Regions from separate parts of the Homo sapiens genome. Here region 2 is linked to region 1. Evidence: promoter capture Hi-C in 16 types of primary human blood cells and fetal thymus (Javierre and others, 2016). All regions are on one chromosome and are shown on one strand. The core of a region is centred on a gene start or on the middle of the fragment in contact, and the rest is flanking DNA. Distances in the headings are between cores, read along the strand shown. Region 1 holds the start of PTAR1 (protein prenyltransferase alpha subunit repeat containing 1). Region 2 holds the start of CARNMT1-AS1 (CARNMT1 antisense RNA 1).

The links. Contacts are between HindIII fragments. The CHiCAGO score rates a contact against its expected background, and 5 or more counts as called.
Region 2: a contact is called between a fragment that was not itself captured here and the fragment with the promoter of PTAR1 in region 1, in 4 of 17 cell types (total B cells, naive B cells, naive CD8 T cells and 1 more). The highest score is 12.9, in total B cells.

The regions. Positions count from the first base shown.
Region 1 is chr9:69,756,731-69,762,456 of GRCh38, reverse strand. It overlaps PTAR1 (protein prenyltransferase alpha subunit repeat containing 1), which reads left to right and starts at 2,446. Exons shown (of 8, transcript NM_001099666.2): 1 at 2,446-2,604. The coding sequence starts at 2,519. LOC105376076 (a long non-coding RNA gene) reads right to left here and starts at 2,362. Exons shown (of 4, transcript XR_929910.3): 1 at 1,984-2,362. RefSeq lists silencers at 90-384, 2,289-2,758 and enhancers at 569-1,424, 2,899-2,948. The HindIII fragment of the contact is 9,606 bases long and covers 1-3,184 here.
Region 2 is chr9:74,951,498-74,958,016 of GRCh38, reverse strand. It overlaps CARNMT1-AS1 (CARNMT1 antisense RNA 1), which reads right to left and starts at 5,052. Exons shown (of 5, transcript NR_121183.1): 1 at 4,900-5,052. It overlaps C9orf40 (chromosome 9 open reading frame 40), which reads left to right and starts at 5,105. Exons shown (of 2, transcript NM_017998.3): 1 at 5,105-5,831. The coding sequence starts at 5,406. RefSeq lists silencers at 5,124-5,333, 5,604-5,813 and an enhancer at 6,144-6,213. The HindIII fragment of the contact is 4,014 bases long and covers 503-4,516 here.

The sequences.
Region 1 (5,726 bases), core at 1,197-3,696:
TTGTCTTTTGCCTTGAAATCTAAACACACATTCCACTCTTTTCACTGCTTCACTCCAGAACTTGTTATCGGTTAAATTTTGATTGATTTTACTAACTCTTTTTTTTTCTTTCTTTTTTTTTTTTTTTTTTTTTTGAGATGGCATTTCGCTTTTGTTGCCCAGGCTGGAGTGCAGGGCACAGTCTTGGCTTACTGCAACGTGCGTCTCCCGGGTTCAAGCGATTCTCCTGCCTCAGCCTCCCAAGTAGCTGGAGCTACAGGCATGCACCACGACGCCCAGCTAATTTTGTATTTTAAGTAGAGACGGGGTTTCACCCTGTTGGCCAGGCTGGTCTCAAACTCCTGATCTCAGGTATCCACCCGCCTCGGCCTCCCAAAGTGCTGGGATTACAGGCGTGAGACACCGTGCCCGGCCGACTTTACTAATTCTTAATCCTGTCCCACCTTGCTGGCTACAATTTTGTGAAACTTCTATCTCACTTCTTTTTTTTTTTTTTTAGATGGAGTCTTGCTCTGTCGCCAGGCTGGAGGGCAGTGGCGCGATCTCCACTCACTGCAACCTCCTACTTCCGCGTTCAAGCGCTTCTCCTGCCTCAGCCTCCCAAGTAGCTGGGATTACAAGCACGTGCCACCACGCCCAGCTAATTTTATATTTTTAGTAGAGACGGCGTTTCACTGTCTTGGCCACGATGGTCTCGAACTCCTGACCTCGTGATCCTTCCGCCTCTGCCTCCCAAAGTGCTGGGATTACAGGTGTAAGCCACCGTGCCCGGTCCTATCTCACTTCTTTTACAACCAGAAGGCTAACTCCAGCCTTTATAAACATACCCACAGGAAATACTGGCCACTGAGTATAGTAAATTTATATTTTTCGTTTATATTTCTCATTCACTTTACATGCAATAGATAGCTTTTACTTTTACAATCATAAAAACTACTTCAAACGCTCCGCATATGTTCACATTAAACACACCATGAGTTTATTTTTTTAATAGCTTTTTAAAGATACAGATTTCTTTTTTTTTTTTTTTGAGACAGAGTCTCGCTCTGTCGCCCAGGCCGGACTGCGGACTGCAGTGGCGCAATCTCGGCTCACTGCAAGCTCCGCTTCCCGGGTTCACGCCATTCTCCTGCCTCAGCCTCCCGAGTAGCTGGGACTACAGGCGCCCGCCACCGCGCCCAGCTAATTTTTTGTATTTTTAGTAGAGACGGGGTTTCACCTTGTTAGCCAGGATGGTCTCGATCTCCTGACCTCATGATCCACCCGCCTCGGCCTCCCAAGGTGCTGGGATTACAGGCGTGAGCCACCGCGCCCGGCCTTTTTTTAAAGACGGAGTCTCGCTCTGTCGCCCAGGCTGGAGTGCAGTGGGGAGTAGCTGGGATTACAGGCGCCCGCCACCACGCCCGGCTTTTTTTTTTTTTTTTTTTTTTTTGTATTTTTAGTAGAGACGGGGTTTCACCGTGTTAGCCAGGATGGTCTCGATCTCCTGACCTTGTGATCCGCCCGCCTTGGCCCCCCAAAGTGCTGGGATTACAGGCGTGAGCCACCGCACCTGGCCAGATTTCAAGGGTGGAAGAATAAAACTGAACCAAGGGCAGCCAGATTTTTCTACCAGAGGTGCAAAAGAAAACCTGATACACAAAAATTTTAGTTATGGCATTTCAAAATCCTAAATAAACTAGAAAGCTCGTTTTTCCTACAAAAATTTATTTTTGCTATTATGAACAAACCCTGTCAGAGCCTTGATCCTTTTTTTTAAATTCCAAAATTGACGCAAAGGCTACCAAATGCAGTACAAAATGAAGTCGAAAAATCTAAAAACGATTTCACTTCTACTTCCTACATACAGATGGCAAATAACTTTTCCTTCACTTTCCTTTCTCTTCCTTTAATAAATTTAAGAATTTTAATTAATGTTTTTTAAAAAGGCTGCTTTCAAGTTCAGAGACAAAAATTGGCACAGTTAGAAAGGAGGTCACCAACACGGTCAAATAGGGACTCGCTCCGCCGCAATGCCTCTGGACCTCTTCATCTCTCAGGCTGGGAAAATAAAGCAGACAAGCTCTGAAAAACGCCCGGGACTAACTGTTAAGAGGCCCTGCATCCTCAGTTGAACATTCCTTCAGGAATGCCCGGGGACCTTGCTGGGGGGGTTCAGGAAGGTGTCTGACTCTCTGGGAGTGTGTCTTGAGGTTTCGCCTAAAACTTAAAATAAGAAAATCGGAGGCCTGAGAGAACTTTGCAAACAAATGTCCAGCATCTTCTCTGACGCTTAGAAAGTCCGTTACCCGCGCGGAGGCGAACTTCTCCACTCACTGGAAGGCCACCAACCCTAGCTAACGCCACGCCCAGGCCGCCAACTGGCTGACCCGGAAGTGCTCGGCGGCGGCCGCGGCGGCGGGGACGCGGCCTAGCCGAAGCACCCGCGCGCGCGCGCGCGCGCTCGTTCTCCGCGGAACTCCCGCCGGCGGCCCGGCTCACGCGGAGGCGCGCCCGAACTGTCGCGGCCGCCGCCAACATGGCCGAGACCAGCGAGGAGGTGGCGGTGCTGGTGCAGCGGGTTGTGAAGGACATCACTAACGCCTTCAGGAGGAACCCACACATGTGAGTCGCGCGCCTCCGCCGCCTCCGAGGGTCGTCGGGAGCGGGCGGGGGCGGGGCCAAGCGTCCACCCGACCTCGGGCGGCGGGCGGACAGCGGGTCCTGGCCCACGAGCCCTTCTAGGGAGGAGGCAGAGCCGTGTCGGGCGGGACCGTTGTCGGCCGCCGCTGGCCCGGCTTTCCGCTACCGGGACGCGCTCGCGGTCGAGTCCCTAGAAGTGACCTCAAAAAATCAAAACGGAACTACTTTCTCTGTCCCTCCCCACCTTTTCATAGGAGTTCACGAAACTCCAGAGACGTCCCCCGTAGGTCGACATCCTTCCTGTGTTTAAGGTACTCGGGCGCACACAACGATGTGGGTCCGTGTATGCCTTGTAAACACAACTCTTGAGATTCATCCCGGACGTTGGCAAGAGGGGGTAACCGATCCTCTTACTTTTAATGAGCCTCAAACCCCTCAGTTTACTAACTAAAGGTGGTTTGAGGCTGCTTTTGACTTTAGCCTTACTTGCCACAAAATTGTAAAGTGACTCCGATAATACATTGTGTTTTGAAAGGTGAACAGAACATTCTCAAGAGAAGCTTCTGTGGGCGCAGTGTGGAGTCTGGGATAAAGCAAATGAAACCTTGATACTTTTTAGCATAAGCGGATTCATAGTTACAAGGAGCATGTTAACTCATTTTTATCCCAACACTGCTGCCCTCTTTAACGGGACACTGCAGAACTGACATATGTATCTCTTCCATTTTACTTGAAGTACTGTGGGAAGATACCGCAAGAGTCTACTTTTTGTAACACTTTGCTTTTATGTAACAAGTGAAAAGAAAGCTATTGAGAGAGAGAGAGAGATCTACATTATACAAAGGTGTAGGGAAGAAGCAACAATGTACCTCCTTTCCCATACCTCTTCCTCCTCAAAGAAAAGAAACATGGCATCCAGTTCTGCATTACTTTCATTTTAGCTAGTTGTTTTTGGAGTTTATTTTTTTTTTTTTTAGTTTATTATTTTTTATTATTATTTAATTTATTTTTATTTTATTCTTTAGACTGGAGCTCATGATTTTTTTTTTTAAGTATTCTAACCGGTTCAGCTTTTCTGCCTAAAAAAGTTGCCAAACGTGTATCTTACCAAAGTGTTCTTTTCCTCCAAGGTGATGATTGTAAAACAGTTAAGAAGCCGTTGGATGTTTTGCTCCCTTGTGGCACACAATTGGAGACGTGCAACTGTGCCACATTAAAAACAAAACACTGCTGGCCTCAAAACACACCTGCCACCTCTGACAGCATCCACTTCCCTCCCCCTTATGACTGCTGCCTTTTTCAAAATGAGAGTGTTTGGAATGATTTCCTGGCAGTATCCATAGTGGTTGCTGAGCCTTCTAAAGAATGCTTTGATGCCTTGCTGTATATCAGTCTTTCGATTTCTTTTTGAGAATGGGAGCCTTAGTGCAAGTAAGAGACGACCTCAAAAAAAAAAAAAGTTGGACAAATGAAGAGTGTATTTTCTCATCACTGGTATTTTTCTAGAAGAAATTACAGCAGAGATTAGAAATCTAATACAAAATGTCGTAATCATCTTATGTTCTCTTCTTTGAGGTAGACTAAAAGAGCATCATTATATTTGAAGAAACCAAGATTGAATGTTCATTGGCTTGGCAGTTTTTAACACAGTGCAGTTTGGAACATGTCCCAGTTCTTGTGGATCACATTTATGGAAACTCTTAAAGGACTTTAATGCCCCTCCCTAATCCTTTTTCTACTGTAAAACCTCATTAATATATCCTCAATGTATAATTTATTAGTAATAAGGATTTGGGTCATTCGAGATTTAAAACTTTGAGATAAGTTGGATATTCGGAATAATGTAATGATTTGTAATATAGGTCTTAAACATTTAAATAGCTTAACTCATTGTTTAAGACTAGTCATCAGCTATATTTGAATACATATTCCCCACAGTAAAACTATTTTCAATAATATTACTATGCATCTTTGTAAGTGCCTTATAATTTGGGCTTTTAAAAATTGCCTGCGCTTTCTTCCCTTAATTTAGCCCATTTACTCCCAAAATAAAGAGGCTGTGTTTCTTTTTTTTTTTTTAAGGCATTGTTTATCTGTAACGTTTGTATCTAACTTTACTGTATCTAATTACACTTTCAGTATTATACAAAAATTTTTTTGTTTTTCTTGTCCAAACTTAAGATCGGTTGTAATTTTATTGGCCAACATCTACTTCATTAAATACATTGACTTTGTTTATGTAGAAATATTTAGCCAGAAGGAGTTGAGGATGCAGTGGTGAGATGTGGATTTTGTTACTGTATGATGTGAATAGGTACCTTCTCTCAGCCTCAGTTTCCTCTTGATCTTGTGAGGCTGATGAAAACAGGAAAATCACCTCACACAGTGGTACTTAGTTGCCACTCAATAAATATTAGACCTTCCCTGAATCTCTGTGTTCCTCACCAAAAATATATTGGACAAATGATTGGTGAATATGAAGCACTTTATAAACCTGGATAATACTATATAAATGCTGTTTGTATGGTTGAGTATTAGATAATCATATTGGATTCTCTAAAACTGAAAACTTGACCTAGGGATAGTCTTTAACTTAGTGTATGGACCCTGTGCTAATGTAGAAGACAACAGTTTATAATGTAAACAGTCACGTTAAAATTAATCTTATCCAGCAAGTTATTGTTTTTTCTATTAAATATTGAACTCACTGTTTATGAAGTGTTGTGGGTACCATCTTTACTGTGTGAAATAGAAGTTTAAAATACAGTTCTTGAACCCAAGGCACTAACAGAAATTTCTGTAATGGTGGAAATTTTCTGTGTCTGTGCTGTTCCATATGGTAGCCACTAGCCATAGTAGCTATTGAGCAATTGAAGTGTCCCTAATATGAACAGGGACCACATTTTAAATTTTATTTAATTTAAATGGATTTGTACGTAGTGGCTCCATGTGCCTAGTGACTACTGTGATGCATAGTGCAGGTGTAGATGAGACCTAAGACTAACTGCATGAACAGTAAATTAACCCTCCAAAGTAGTTTATAGTAAAAGTTGGATAGGAGCATGATGAGCAAGTGCTATGGGAGTCTAATAGAAGTGGAGAGG
Region 2 (6,519 bases), core at 1,260-3,759, 5.2 Mb before region 1:
GCTATTACATCTGACTAGGATCACATGATTTGCCCCCCCTCACTTTCCTCAGGTCTTGGCCCAAAAGTCTTGTCAGAGATGCCCATCTTGACCTTTTATCCTGCCTTATTTTTATTTTTCCTCAGCACCACCTGATAGATGTGCTTATTTATTGTCTGTCTCCCCCAAGATTCCTTGGACAGTCATGGGGTAGGGATTTTTGTTTTACTGTTGTAACCCAGTGCCTGGTCTGTAGCAGATGCTTAAAATATGTATTCAAAGAATAAATTGAGTGAATGTGATTATGAAAGAATACAGTTATATTTCTGGTATGGGTACCTGTATAGATGACTGATGACACTGGAGGATGGAATATGAGATGCCTACAGAACACCCAGATGGAAATAATGGACACTCATTCAGGCAACGAATATTTACTGAGCACCTACCATGCTAGTCACTTTGAGTATATGACTGGGGACAAAACCCAAAAAACAAACTGGAACCCTACCTTCAACAAGCTTACTTTCTAGAAAGGGAGACAATAAGAGTAATAAGTAAGTGAAATATATAATAGATTAGAAAGTAATCATGCTATGGGAAAAGAGGGGAATCAAGAGTCAGGAGAAATGTAGAGTGAGTTGCAATTTTAAATAAGGTGGTTAAGGTAGACTCATGAGAAGTCACATGGATCTGATGCTCAGAGGAGAGGTTTATCTGTTAAACTGGCAATAATCTGCCCCAAAGTTTTTGGGATCAAATGAGATATGTAAAAGTTCTGGCAATTAAAAAATTTTAAACTACTTCCCCACCCTACACTGCTGTGAGGCTTCAGTTAGTCTGAAACACACAAGTTTAAAGATAAGCAGAATAAGTTTGTGTGTATTCCTTTTTCAGTAAGAAGAAAAAAAGTTTCCCTTCTTTGTTGTTTTGTTGTAACTAATGACTTCTGAGTTATTATCCACAAAATTATGGGATATGTAGAATAGGTAGAAGATCCTATTACATCAATAAAAAATGCATTTAGATAGGGCAGGGGGAGGGGTGCAAGGTATTTATGTTTTACATAAAGTGGTACAATGTTAGCTCGAACTAGACTGTGAAAAAATAAAGATGTATATGAACAGTCCTTATGGCAACCACATTATTAATTCAAAGAGGTATAGCTAAGTAAATACCAATAGGTTAACTTAAAATGAAATTCATAACGATAGGAAGGAGGTAGAGTAACAAGAAAGGAAATTTTGAAAGTATTTCAAACTGAAAGATAATAAAAATACAACATACCAAAATTTGTAGGATGTAGCCCAAGCAGTGCTACAGGGAAAGTTACAGCTTTAAGTGTTTATTTTAGAAACTAACAAAGACGGCTGGGCACGGTGGCTCACGCCTGTAATCCCAGCACTTTGGGAGGCCGAGGTGGGTGGATCACCTGAAGTCAGGAGTTTGAGACCAAGCTGGCTAGCATGGTGAAACCCCACCTCTACTAAAAATGCAAAAATTAGCCAGGTGCGGTGGCATGCACCTGTAGTCCCAGCTACTCGGGAGGCTGAGGCAGGAGAATCGCTTGAACCTGGGAGGCAGAGGCTGCAGTGAGCCAAGATCGTGCCACTTCACTCCAGCCAGAGTGACTCTGTCTCCAAAAAGAAACTAACAAAGACTACAATCAGTGACCTAGGTTCTATTAGAAGAAGCTAGAGAAAGAAGAGCAAAGTAAATCCAAATTTAGTAGAAGCCAATGAAATGGGAAAAAGAGAAACTAAGAAAATATTCCAACAAATGTGATGAATGAAATGGACAAATTCCTTGAACAAGTGGATCTGGTACTACTTACAACTTAGGGTAAACTAATTTCAAATTCTACTTCTGGGGCCTTAAAAAAAAAAGAACCCAGAGCAGCAACAAAAACTCAGAAAATGTTATTTAAAAAGAAAAAGAATATTGTCTACAAAAATTATAAAGTGCCTAGGGATAAACTTAACAAAGATATAAGCTCTTTATGTTGAGAAATATAAAACTTTATTGAAAGATTTTTAAAAACTTAAATAGTTATATTCTTGAACAGGAAATGAGCTTGGTATTGTAAAGATAATAATTCTTCCCAAATTGATCTATAATCTCAATGCAATTATAACCAAAATTCCAAAAGGGTAACTAAATGTTACAGAGGATGCTATTATGGAAGAACAAAGGGCCAAGTATAGTTGACACACTCCTAAAGAACAAGATGTCAAAGACTGCTCTCAAAACTTTGATCATCTTGATGGTGGTTATGGTTTCACAGGTGTATGAATGTCAAATTGTACACTTTATATGCACATTATTGTGTGTCATTTAGACCTAGGTAAAGCTGTTTTAAAAACAAAAACAAAAAAAAGCCCGGCAAAACAAGCCTGGGCAACATAGTGAGACCTTGTTGCTACTAAAAATAAAAAATTAGCTGGGTGTGGTGGCACAAGCCATGGGCCCAGCTACTTGGGAGGCTGAGGCAGGAGGATTGCTTGAGGCCAGGAAGTTGAAGCTGCAGTGAGCAGTGATCACGCCACTACATTCCAGCCTGGGCAACAGAGCAAGACCTGGTCTCAGAAAATATATTAAGCTGGGTGTGGTGGCTCATGCCTGTAATCCCAACACTTTGGGAGGCCAGGGCAGGCAGATTGTTTGAGTTCAGGACTTTGAGACAAGTCTGGGCAACGTGGCAAAACCCTGGCTCTACAAAAAAATTTTAAAAATTAGCTGGGTGTGGTGATGTACACCTGTAGTCTCAGCTACTCAGGAGGCTGAGGTGGGAGGACTGCTTGCCCCTGAGAGGTCAGGGCTGCAGTGAGCTGTAATCATATCACTGCTCTCCAGCCAGGGCAACAGAGCAAGCCCCGTTTCAAAAAAAAAAAAAAAAAAGTTATTTAGCAATATACATACAGACATACAAATGGAAGAGTTAAAAAGCAAAGGAATGATTAACTCAACATGTAAAACGGTAATTACCGGGAGTGAGGGAAAGGGAAGGGTATGTGCCAGTGGGGAAGGGACGCATAGGGAGCTTGTCATGTTCTAGTATAGGTAGTATTCTATTTCTGAAACAGAATGCTGTATGTCTTACTATCATTCTTTTAACTACATGTGTATTTTATACAACCTTTTGCATATATGATAAGTTTCACAATTTTGAAAAAATGAGCGTTTGTAAAGAGGAACACAAAAGAACCAACCATTAGCTAAACTTATTATTTTGGGGGTACTCAAAACCTTTCAAACAGCACTTGATGACTACGATTAAGATCTTTCCTGCTGATTTAAAAATGGCAAAACTCTTCCTCTGTTTGAGACAGACGGGTTTTCAATTTATTTTTTTTTTTTTGGAGACAGGGTCTCACACTGTCACCCAGGCTGGAAGTACAGTGGTGCAATCTTGGCCTCTGCCTCCAGGGTTCAAGCGATCCTCCCACCTCAGCCTCCCTGGGACTACAGGTGCAAGGCACCACCTCTGGCTAATTTTTGTATTTTCTGTAGAGATGGGGTTTCACCATGTTGGCCAGGCTGGTATGGAACTCCTGGGCTCAGGTGATCTGTGCACCTCATCTTCCCAAAAGTGCTGGGATTAAAGACGTGAGCCACCGCACCCGGCCGGTTACCAATTTCAAACAAGAAAAGTAAAAACCAAACAGAAAAGCTATTGCTTACTACCCTAACTTGGTACATTTCTGTGCTTGTTAATAACTAATAATTAACTTGTCCTCTCACAACCACCTTGAGATGCAGGGGTACAGGGTAAATTAGTACTGAGATAGTACCTAGCACTAAAATAGAATTATCTTTCTTGCACACTTTTTCTACAGAGGATGATAGTTTTTCCCTTCAAAGCACTGGTAATAGTCTTATTTTCTTCCTTCCATTTCTGCTTACTTGGTTACTGTCTTTATCAAACTATTAAAATAGTAAATACGACCAGATGCGGTGGCTCACACCTATAAACCAAGCACTTTGGGAGGCCCAGACAGGAGATCGCTTGAGCTCAGTGGGGCCCGGCTGCAGTGAGCCGTGATGGCACCACTGCACTCCCGCCTAGGTGGCCGAGAGAGACCCTGTCTCAAACAAAATAAAAAATAAAAATAATAAAATAGTAAATATACTGCAATTGTCTCCACCTCACTTCACCTGACAACACTATTTTGCTGTAATGGCCATAGAATCTTGATCTGACCACCGCCCATAGTAAGCAGGGAACTCAGCCTTCCAACATTAATTAAGAGCCCAACAATTTTAGGTTTCAGTTAGAAAGGACAGCTGCGCTTCAGGCTTGGTTCTTGCCAACTACTCAGCTATTTTGGATGAGCTGCACATTTTGTCTGTAACTTCCTCCATAAGTTTTTAATCAAGAGATCTTCCAGGAATGTAGGGCCTGCTTCACCTTCCACAGCAGCTGCGCAAAACATGCAAAACATACACTTCGATTTGTGTTTTCTGTTAGCTTTAGCTACTTCCCTCAGCCCAGACTCCCTTCAGTCTTTTGTTTTGAATAACAACCTACTGTGAAGCTTCTTAAACACTAGTTTTATTTAAAGCTTGTATTATCCTTTTCCTTTTTTTTTTTTTTTTTTTTGAGACGGCATCTCGCTCTGTTGCCCAGGCTGCAGTGTAGTGGTGCGATCTCTGGCTCACTACAGCCTCCACCTCCCAGGCTCAAGTGAATCTTCCTCCTCAGCCTCCCGAGTAGCTGGGACCACAGGGGCAGGCCAACAAGCCTGGCCTATTTTTGATTTTTTGTAGAGACGAGGTCTTGCTATGTTGCCCAGGATAGTCTGGAACTCTATTATAATCTTTGTCTTAATCTCATGGAGACGCCCCCGTGGTCACTGACTGGAGGAAGGAAATACACATTTTAAAGGTTTTAAATTTCCTATAGAAGGGTCTAGAACGTACCGCGCTATAACGAACATAGTAGTAAGACCACCGCCACACTCCTGAGGAAACAAGGTCACGCCCCTCTGCGGGCCGCTTGATCGGGTCTTTAATTAATCCCGCCGCGGCCTTCCCGCCTACCCCCGAGCGCGCACTTCCGGTCGCGAGGGCGCTCGGGAGCGCGCCCCGCGAGCCTCCACCAACCAGCGGCTCCGCCTGGCCAGACAGAGTGCGCGCGCGCACGTTGTGCGCAGGTTCGAATCTCCGCCGCTTCGCGGTTGCTTCTCAACGTCCGGGCCGCATCTCGGCGGCGGCGAGGGCTGAGCGCGGGAGCTGCCTCCGAGCCGGAGCCCCAGCCCTAGGCCCTGCGCGAGCTGCCCCGCCCTACCCCCTCCAGCGTCCTGTCGCCTCCTCGCCCGACTTCGGCCTGTCCCTCTCTCACGCGCTCAGTCCTCGCTCTTCGCCCCCCGCAGCTATCGGCACTCGGTCTCCCGCGCCTGGCGGGCTCCGCCCGAGCCTCTGGGCCCATGGCCAAGCGGCGTGCGGCCGAGCCGGTGACGTTCCACGTGCCTTGGAAGCGGCTCCTGCTTTGCGACTTCGCTGAGCAGCCGCCGCCACCGCCTCTCTGGATCCGGCCGCCCGGGGTCGCGCATGCTGGGCAGCTCCTCGGCGTCCCAGAGCAGCACCGAAAGCGCAAAATCGACGCAGGGACCATGGCAGAGCCCTCGGCTTCGCCCAGCAAGCGCCGTGACAGCGGGGACAACAGCGCCCCGAGCGGCCAGGAGCGTGAGGACCACGGTCTGGAGACAGGCGATCCGCCGCTGCCGCCGCCGCCCGTACTGCCGGGGCCGGGGGAGGAGCTCCCGGGCGCCCGGCTCCCGGGGGGCGGTGGCGACGACGGGGCGGGGCGCGCAGGACCCCCGCGGGGAGACTGGGGGGTCGCATCGCGCCAGGTAGGGGCTGGGGGCGGGTGGGCTGAGGGGCGAAGGGGCTTGCCTTTTCCCCACACACACAAAACGCCCCGGTTCCCACTCATGACTTGTGTAGGTTAAGACGCCTGAGGGGGTTGAAAGAAGGGGTCACCGCTCCGGGAGAGGACGCCGACCGCCAGAAGCACACCCCGAGAGTCCGATGGGCAGAAAGCACTGGGCTGGGCGAGGGGGAAACAGACCGTGGTCGGGAGCGATAGAAGTGGCCTTGCGGCGTCAGCGCCGCGCTCCGTAAAAGGGAAACGGGACCGTGGGTCGTGGCGGGCTGTGAGCATGGCGAGAACGCAGACCGTCAGGGCATAGGTTCAGCCCAAAGACAAACGACAGATAAAGGTGTAGAGGGCCTTCCTGGGTTTAACGATGATTAGTCTAGAATTCGGGATAGAGTTCTTTTTCTAGAGGGAGACCAGTGTGGTAGCCATTGATTAATTGAACGTCCTACCGGCTGGTACAGCTTCTGGAGAAAAGGATGGACCACCGTACCTTGGTCAAAGCTTTGTTTTAACTCATAGTGTTAAATCTGATCCTAGGCAAAAGTATCATTGAAAATTAATTTGGGGGCGGGGCGTGGTGTCTCACGCCTGGAATCCCAGGACTTTGGGAGGCCACGGCGGGTGGATCACCTGAGGTCGGGAGTTCGAGACCAGCCTGG